2 separate regions of the Homo sapiens genome follow, and region 2 is linked to region 1. The links are contacts of gene promoters, found by promoter capture Hi-C in blood cells and fetal thymus (Javierre and others, 2016). All regions are on one chromosome and are shown on one strand. The core of a region is centred on a gene start or on the middle of the fragment in contact, and the rest is flanking DNA. Distances in the headings are between cores, read along the strand shown. Region 1 holds the start of IL22RA1 (interleukin 22 receptor subunit alpha 1). Region 2 overlaps CLIC4 (chloride intracellular channel 4).

Region 1 (4,435 bases), core at 1,654-4,153:
GCATGTGAAGAACCTACAATATTCATCCCAGTGCTAGACTGGTTGTGGGGCGGATAGAGCGGGTTGGCGTCTGTGAATGTGTTTAGTGTCTAACAGGCCCCTATGTACATGTGTTGAGTCTGAAGGGAGGAGACCTGGGAAGGGAAGACATTCGCTCTGTAGGGAGGGGGCTATCTTGTTCACCCTTTTATATGAGGGTGGGGGGCTTCAGGGACCTGAGCACCTGATAAAGGGATGAATTTAGGGAGGAGGAGAAGAGAGAGGAGAAGAGAAGCTGGCCATTGAAGAGTCCACAGCCCTCTCTTCCAGGCTAGGTCTTTGTCCAGCCCACTTCTGCTTCTGTTAAGGGAAGGGCAGTGAGGGCCTGAGCCTCAAGGAAGGGGCTGGGGAGGGGCTGCAGCCTCTAAAGCAATCTGCACTGTAAACAAAGAGTCCTTAACTTATAAAACCCTTCCCTCAGGCCCCCAGGCTTGGGCTGTGGAGAGCAAGAGCCTGCGGGAAAATGGCGGCCCAAGCTGGCAGCTGGCTCGGAGCTCGGAGGCCCTGGCCGGCTGGCGTGGGAAATAAACAGGTGGGAAAATGTTAAGCAACCCCAGCTGGGTCAAGGCCTTGCGGCCTGGGTGTGTGTCTTGAATATGTCTGTGCCTCTCCTTCCCCAGACACGTCTACGACTGCCAGTGGGCCCAAGGTGTGAGGGAGCAGACAGTTATTGATTCCCCTACTCCAACTCTACACACAAGAGGGGTCCTCAGGCTTGGCGAGGACCGATGGGGACGGAAGAATGGTCCGACCCCGCTGCACATCCTCTGGCCAACCTCGAAGGCTGCCCTCCTCTCTGAATTTGGGTTCTGGCCCAGCAGCTGCAAAATGTCTTCAGGCTTCCTGGAGTCCCCAGAATGGGGCCTTAGGGATGGCGCGGGGAGGGGTCTACTGCCTCTACGCAAGGTGACGGCTGTGCCGTGGAGCCTTAGGATGTAGCTGACATCTTGTTTGGATGTGAGGCTGGGTGGAATTGGGGTCAGTTCTGGAGGGAGGGGTCCTGGATTCAGGGCTGAGTCTAAAGTTGAGGAAAGGAGTCCAGTCAAGGTCAGACCTGAACAGTGGCTTCTGGTTGGGTGGTGGGTCAGGGCAGAAGGGTGAGGGTGGGCTTTGAGAAGCCAGGCTCCATCAAGGCTTGGGGTAGAGTCTGCAGCGGGAACGGTTGCTGGTTGAGGTCAGTGTTCTGGGTGGGAAATAGAGGGCCCATCTGGGTTGCAAGGAGGCTGGTGGCTGAGGTGGGGGCATGTTGCCAAGGCAAAGGACCCTGGGCTACGTGGAGGTTGGCACCACTTTTCAGGAGGGAACTGCAGTTAGCTTCCTGAAGTGGGGTAAGTGAACCTAGGCCCACTCCTGTCTTTTAGGGATGTCAGGGTCTAACAAGATCTCCCCCTCTTCTCCCACCCTCCTCGCTCCTTTTCCTCCTCAAATCTATCATCCATTCCTCAGCCTGTGTTGCTTCGGCACTTCCCGGGTGAAAGTCTATATTGTGAAATCTGGGGAGACATGTGTTGTGTGGAGCCTGGCAGCCTGGCGGATTTATAAAAGGCAACTTGTTTTTTCACATTCATGTGGAAAAACAATGTTCTGTCAACCAGCTGGGAAGCTAAGGAAAAATACACAAACAAGAAACAATTCCACATGCTCTGGAGTCAGCCTAAGATTGGGGGGGTGAGGGCCCGGTGTGTGCAGCGCGAGGCAGCTGACCCTTGACAATCTCCTAAGGGCTATTTCTTGGGGTCCCCCATCTCAAAGGGCTGGGAGCCTCTAGGATTTCTAACCAGTATGGCTGAGGGTCTAAAGGGACGTGTCTTGGTGCCTCAAGGGGGTGCCTCACATCTTCCTGGAACGCCCAGCTTGATGCTGGGAAGCAGACTGGAGGGGGTCCCACAGAGCTGGAAGCCCTGGAGACGCAGGCAGCCCTGGCGGGACAGTGGCAGAGAAGGTGGGAAGCTCTGCCTTTTCGTGGGCCTCGTCCTGCACTTGAGCAAGGAGGGCCTGGCCGAGGCCATACCTGCTCGCCATCCTCAATCAGGACTATGCTTTGACTTCCTAAGGAAGTTCCCTGAATTTCATGCAATGCACCAGGAGAGCAGAGAGAGAGTCTAGGGTCTCATGTAACGTTCTCCATAATGATGAGCCCCCCACTCCGCTCACTTTATTGGCTTTGAACACTATGCCCTTAAGACCTGTTTCCAAATGAGTCCTGTGTCTTAAGACCTATTAATGTAGCAGACCTGGCCACTCTAGGAGAAAATGCTCTTTCAGATCTATGATAACAAAAGGGGCCAAAGAGGCCCTGCAGGGGCATGGAGGGAGGCAATAGTGAACTCAAGCTTCGTTTCCCCCGGTCCTTCCTCCTCCTCCCCTGTCAGGCCAGTGCCAAGTGAGAGGCAGAGGAAGGATGGTACAAACTGTGCCGACACCGTTTGAGGGACCGAAGGATGTCTGCCTCCTCCAGGCCAATTCTCCATTCACTGAGGTGCAGCGATCCAGCACCCCCAGTTCAGACAGCTGGCTATATCCCTCAAGACCCGAGGGTCCTTTGGGTCCCTGGAAGAACCCAGGGTCTGAGGCACCCTCTCATGCCCCCAGCAAACTAAGCTGGGCATTTGCTTCTCCGTGAACACCCGGCACCCTGCTCAGCCCTAGCAGGGGAGAAACTGAAACTGGCTATGCTCGGGCTGGGGAGGGTGCTGGGGAGATGACCCTGATCGTTGGCCCCTGGGATAAGGGAGGTCTGACCACAGGGTAGATGGGCACTCACCAGCCAGGGATCCCACAGTCAAGATGGTCAGCAGCGTCCTCATCGGGGCTGGCACAGAGCCCTCCCTTGGCCTCTACTCTGCCGTGCACAGAGAGAGGGCTGGGAGTCTTGGCGCCCTGGCAGCTGGCTCCACCCGGGCATGGGGCGGGGAGAAGGGGGTGGGTGGGACCTGTGCCGGTGGGGAGCAGGGGTACAAAGGTGTCCTGGCCCTGTGTGCTCTGGAATTCCAGGTTCTGGGCGGGATCTAAGGGAGTTCCCTTCCGACTTGCAGAAAACAGCAATAGTAACAGGCTGGCTTGTTTATCTGGTCCGGTGGCTGATTCATCCCAAGTGGTTTATCAAGGAGCTGAGGGGCAGAAAAGGCAAGAATAATCCACGATATGCAGCCTTATCAAAAAGCAATTTGGCACTGTGGATCAAAAGCCTACACCACATACATATCTTTTGCTTTAATAATTCTATTCCTAGGGGATTTACCCTGATGAAAATAACTGGACAACAGAGGGGGAAAAAAAAGGTCCCAGAATGTTTCTTGCAGCAAAGGAAAAGCTGTGACTCCTTTGCTTTTCTGGCAGGAGGAGATTGAGGGCACCCGATGCTCCTCCTTGATCCTCCATATCAAGGCAGGTCCCCACGCTTGGGGTGGGCTTGGGAACAGCTCTCCCCTAGAGAGGCCGTTGGGGGTGAGGAAGCCCAGCCGCTCTTACCTTGAGCCTTTGGGTCTAGGATCTGCAAAAGTTTAGAAAAAAAATGGAACTCAAACTTCAGTGATTCTTTCTGCTGTGCTAGAGATGGGGCTGAACTTCATGAATGGGGCTTTGGTTCGGGACGATGAAGATTCAGGCTGCTCTCCCATCATTTTGCCACGTAGGGCAGGATCTGCACATGAGCTTCGTGTGAATGAAGGGACAGGTGTTTAGGAAATGGTTTTCTCCTTCCTGCAGGGCCTGGAGAAGGTAGAAGGGCCCTGGGGCCTGGACTCTGGTCAGGGTGGACACGATTGGAGGGTCCTGCCCCTGGGGAGAGTTTGCCTGGCCCCAAGCACACAAAGGCAAGCGAAATTTTAGCAGGGATCCTGCCAACGGGTTGGGTGTAATGGGCTGTGATATGCTGAGATCGGTGTTTAAGTTTTTCTTTCCTGAATTGTAATTGTTATCAGCCCTGATTGCTAAAGTTTGTTTGACAAAACAGCCAAATCTAAGCTGTGCTTTGGAGGAATTAAGGTAGGGCCCATGCCAGTCATTTCCTGAAACTGCAGGAAACTACATTTTCTAGACTCCTTTATCAACTGCTTTCTGATAGGTTTAGCCCCTGGGGGAAGACTGGGGAGGCAGAGATCAGAGCATTTCTCCCCTCGTTTTCTGTTTGAGTGGCTTCCCCAGCAATGGCCATATCCCTCTGCAGTTCTGGCTCCCTCTGGACAGTCCATCAGCCAGGCAACCCCTTATGTCTTTCTTGTTCCTGTTTGGAGGCCAGCTCCTGGCTCTGGCAACACCTTCTCCCCTCATCTTTCCTTTCAGTTGGTGGGATGGCACAGCTTCCTGCTTTGGGGAAATCTCTGAACTGTCTGTCCTGATTAGTGTCCCAGCTCCTTCATCCTCTGGGTGACGAGCTCCTTTACATTAAAGTCCC
Region 2 (4,760 bases), core at 868-3,367, 680 kb after region 1:
CAGGCTCTGCTTGTAAGACTGTTTCTAAATAGGATAAGGAGAAAAAGGAGAAGAATTGTGCAAGCTTGTAGACTGGAATCTAGCATTTCTAATAACATGTTTTTGTCATTTGATGTACTGAGAACTGAGTGGTTTTTTGTGAACACTTCCTGATTTAATCATGACAAATATAAATACAGGCAATTGTCTATTCTAGAGTTGCTTAACATTGAGAGGCTAATGAAAAGCTCAAATCAGATAACTTTTACTGGTATGTGTGGCTATAGGTTTTAAAGTGAACTTTTTCTTCTTCTCTGGGGAAAGTATTTTTGTGTATGTTTTATAGTTCTTGCTTGAATGAAGAAACCACTTTGCTAAAAAACTTTGAGACTTGGATTTTTAACTGAAACAGCCTAGATATACTTAGCTAACTTACTGATAAAAGGATAAAATAGAAGGAAGCGAGATAAATTTGGAGGGGCATGCTATAAAATGTTATTAAACCTTTTTTAAAAATGAGACATACAGGCCGGGTGTGGTAGCTCACGCCTGTAATCCCAGCACTTTGGGAGGCCAAGGCGGGTGGATCATGAGGTCAGCAGTTTGAGACCAGCCTGACCAACATGGTGAAACCCTGTTTCTAATAAAAACACAAAAAATTAGCTGGGCGTGGTGACGGGCGCCTGTAATCCCAGCGACTTGGGAGGCTGAGGCAGGAGAATCGCTTGAAACCGGAAGGCGGAGGTTGCAGTGAGCGGAGATTGCGCCACTGTACTCTAGCCTGGACAATAAGAGCAAAACTCTGTCTCAAAAAAAAAAAAAAAAAAGACATACAAAAAAGGAATTTACAAGGCTAATCAGCCTTCATTTTTATATTTACACCAGAAAGGAGAAAATGCCTGAGATCTTTCCTAAAAGCATGGAAACATTCTTAGCTAGTCTAAAATGTTAAGAGTCTGTGATGTAAGCAGAATTAAGGACTTATCTGAAAGTCTAAATACCCTGGGTGCTCATGTCTATTCTGTCATTGACACTTAGCCTTTTATTATTTGCCTCCCTTTTGCTAAGTGTTAAAATGAGTTCTCACAATAATTGAAAACCATTGCTTGATCAAGCTATTTGCTAAAGCCAATAATAATGCATAAATTACAATGTAATGTTTGGGGAAGATGCAAAAAAGTTGATTTTGAACCTACTGGTTTAGAATTTGATTTATCTTTTAGAGATAATCTAATCTGTAATAGAAACAAACAAACAAACAAAAACACTAGACCTGGGGACAGGAGATTTCAGTTTTAGTTTGTCAATACTTTTTTTTTTTGAGACGCAGTCTCGCTCTGTCACCCGGGCTGAGTGCAGTGGCATGATCTCTGCTCACTGCAACCTCTGCTTCCTGGTCTCAAGCAATTCTCCTGCCTCAGACTCCTGAGAAGCTGGGATTACAGGCACCCGCTACCATGCCTGGCTGATTTTTGTATTTTTAGTGGAGACAGAGTTTTGCCATGTTGGCCAGGCTAGTCTCGAACTCCTGACCTCAATTGATCCGCCCACCTTGGCATCCCAAAGTGCTGGGATTACAGGCATGAGCCACTGTGCTTGGTCTCGTTTGTCAATACTTTTAATTAGCTGAGTGATTTGGGGGCCAAGTGTGTAAGCTTTCTGGAACATAATTTCCTTTTAGGTAAAATGAGAGATCTGAGGTGAACATTCTCTTATAGCTATACTATTCTGTGCATTAAATTAATAGTACAGGCTGGGTGCAGTGGCTCAGGCCTGTAATCCCAGCACTTTGGGAGGCTGAGGCAGGAGGATCACTTGAGCCCAGGAGTTCAACACTAGCCTGGGCAACATGGGGAAACCTCGTCTCTACAAAAAAATACAAAAAGCTAGCCAAGTGTGGTGGCACATGCCTGTAGTCCCAGCTACTCAGGAGGCTGAGGTGGGAGGATCGCTTGAGCCCAGGAGGTTGAGGCTGCAGTGAGCAAGATCCTGCCACTACACTCCACCCTGGGTGACAGAGGGAGACCCTGTCACACACACACACACACACACACACACACACACACACACACACAAAAGTACAAAATTAGTAATACATCTCAGAGGGACAACAGGGCATATTACAAGAATTACACTGTATGTATGAATGATGAATATATAAATGATCTGTAATTCAAGCCTGCCTTCCCGAAAATTATTTTAAGAACTATGAGGCTTACTTCATTAGTACAATTAGGTACAGCTAAATAGTGGTTGCGGAAAAGGAGAATTTGGGAAACTTGGCTATAGGAAGACATAGATGTATTGAAAAGGCATTATGTTCACTGCGCTATTTTTTGTTTGAAATGAGTCAATGATGGTCCTGTATCACAAGCAGTACAAACATTTAAACTGGAGGCTTGTTTGTATAGTCAAGGAAAATCCAGGGATGGTGGATCTGTGATTAACTGTTTCAGCCCAGGCAGAAACAAAGAAAATGGAGAGGGTAAAGGGCCCTATAGTTGGCGATGTGTGGTTAATGTATGGCTAGATAGATATAGATATCTAAATTCAGGTGAAACTCACTGTAATTTTTACAGAAAAACTCTTTATGTAAATAATTGTGTTTATAAGATAAATCTTTAAGCTTAAAAAATGAGAGCTATCTAGAGACTAGGTACACTTATTAAAAAAGATGTCTTGAGCATATAGGTGTTCCATAGATATTTTATATCTTCCTTACCAATATAGTACTCTGCCCAATATTTAGAAGATATATCTCTTCCTGAATTCAAAATAGTAAACAGAAGATACATGAATATAAAAGCTGAAACACAACTTGCAACTGAACTGAATTTTGAAAACTACTTCCCCTTCGTTTTTAAAGAAAGCTGGCAAGACAATGTCTTCAAATAAATGAGTTGAAATAATTAGTACACTGTAAGGTTTTTTCTAAAGTCTTATTGCTCCCAAGTCCATTTTCTAGTGACGTTTTGCAGGACCTTCAAGCTGATTAATCTTCCCTAAAATGGGGCTAAGAATCTGAATTCTTCTAGCCCTGACTCCTGGGGCTGACATGAGTCCTCCTAAAGGGAAGATGAATAATTGAGCTTTTTCATATATTTTCCAGTTTGAAGAAGAAATATACACAGAGTATGTGTGTTTTAAATCTAAACAGTGAAATATACATTTTTGTGTGTGTTTTAGAAAGCTGGTGTATTACATCTGTTCTAAAAGTAGAAAAATTTGACAACACAATAGAACACTTGTCAGTGTGCTTTCTGACATCTCATTTTGTTGTTGTTCGGTGCTACCCTCATAAATATTCTAGGGAATGTGTAATATAAGGGAGGTTTTGGGAAATCCCAGGTGTAGGTTTCAAGCGATTGATCCGCCTCCTTTTGTTTTTGTCCTTAACCTGCTATGGGTGATCATGATGCTTGACCAGCCTAGGCGCTTTTCCTGCCGTTGGGGTTCTCTGGCTGGTTTAGTGCAGGACATACTAAGGATCTGGTTGGCACTGCTGTTTGAGAAGGCGCGTGAGCTGTGCTGTCTGGTGACTACTGAGCACTTGAAATGTGACTAGTGCAACTGAGGAAGTGAATTTTTAATTTTGTTTGTGATTAATTTAAATTCATATTCAAATAGGTACATGGCACTAGTGGCTACTGTACTGGACAATGAAGATAGAGAACATTTCCATCATCACAGAAAGTTCTCTTGGACAGCACTGCTCTAGCAATCTCATTCCAAGACTCCCATTGGCCTGGCAGAAATCTCTGAACAAGTCAACTGTTTCCCCAGCATTCTAATTTATCAGATGGAGGTGGAGTGCACATGCCCTGTGGTTGCCAAGAATATTAATATGTGAACAAAAACATAGTGCAGAGCTTTGTCTCGTAAGGAAAAAACAGTTTTTAAAAATACCATAGAAAACAAATGATGGTATTTCTTATAGTAATAACTATTAAAAGACGTCTAGTAACTGCTAGCATGGTGGTTTGAGAGAACTTATGCTAATTCATCTTTGAAGGATCTATAATCCATATCACTTTTTCTATTTAGGTACTTAAAGCTTTCACCAAAACACCCAGAATCAAATACTGCTGGAATGGACATCTTTGCCAAATTCTCTGCATATATCAAGAATTCAAGGCCAGAGGCTAATGAAGGTAAAAAACAAAAACTTGAATTAACATTGCAACAAAAAACCCCAAACAACAACAGGCTGTTATTATGACAGTGATTATAAATGAGTACTTTAGAGTCCAGCCATTCCCATAAGTAATAAAAACTGTCTTTCAGAGTTGGTCAGAAATTGGACAATAAACTGGAATAAGTCCCTATGTTGCTATTTTTCCATGTTTCTAGCTAGTAGCACAGTATATAGTAAGTGTGTGATAAAATGCTTCTTGAATGAAGTTTATTTCATCTTATTTTGAGAAGTTACTGTGAAGGGAGCTAGGCAAAGAATTAATGGTGCATCAGAAACAGTGGATTGTGTGGTTGTGGTGGTTTAGCATAGATTGGTTGAGCTTAATTTAAACTGTAACTAAATGTTTATTGTTGAGTGCCTGCAGCCTAGAGTCAGTCTGAGGTTTTTTTTTTTTTTTTTTTGCTTTGTTTTGTTTTTGTTGTTGTTGTTTTTGCTAATTACCCTTGAGCAATGTTTGGAGTTGCTTTAAGAGGGTAATTAGACATACTATCCTTCCAAATTTCTCTGCATCTTCAAGCTGGAATTTCATTTTCAAGTCATGTTTTCGCGGTAAGAGTTGTTTAGGTAGTACAGATGCAATTTTCTT

Evidence for each region. The method cuts DNA at HindIII sites, captures the fragments that hold promoters and counts their contacts. A CHiCAGO score of 5 or more calls a contact.
Region 2: a fragment that was not itself captured here is called in contact with the fragment with the promoter of IL22RA1 in region 1 in 4 of 17 cell types (non-activated CD4 T cells, total CD8 T cells, activated CD4 T cells and 1 more); the score reaches 7.8 in non-activated CD4 T cells.

The regions. Positions count from the first base shown.
Region 1 is chr1:24,140,237-24,144,671 of GRCh38, forward strand. It overlaps IL22RA1 (interleukin 22 receptor subunit alpha 1), which reads right to left and starts at 2,904. Exons shown (of 7, transcript NM_021258.4): 1 at 2,804-2,904. The coding sequence starts at 2,846. The HindIII fragment of the contact is 5,016 bases long and covers 2,371-4,435 here.
Region 2 is chr1:24,822,987-24,827,746 of GRCh38, forward strand. It overlaps CLIC4 (chloride intracellular channel 4), which reads left to right. Exons shown (of 6, transcript NM_013943.3): 4 at 4,024-4,130. Among named protein-coding and RNA genes, the nearest start is that of CLIC4, 80 kb to the left of the region's middle. The HindIII fragment of the contact is 971 bases long and covers 1,633-2,603 here.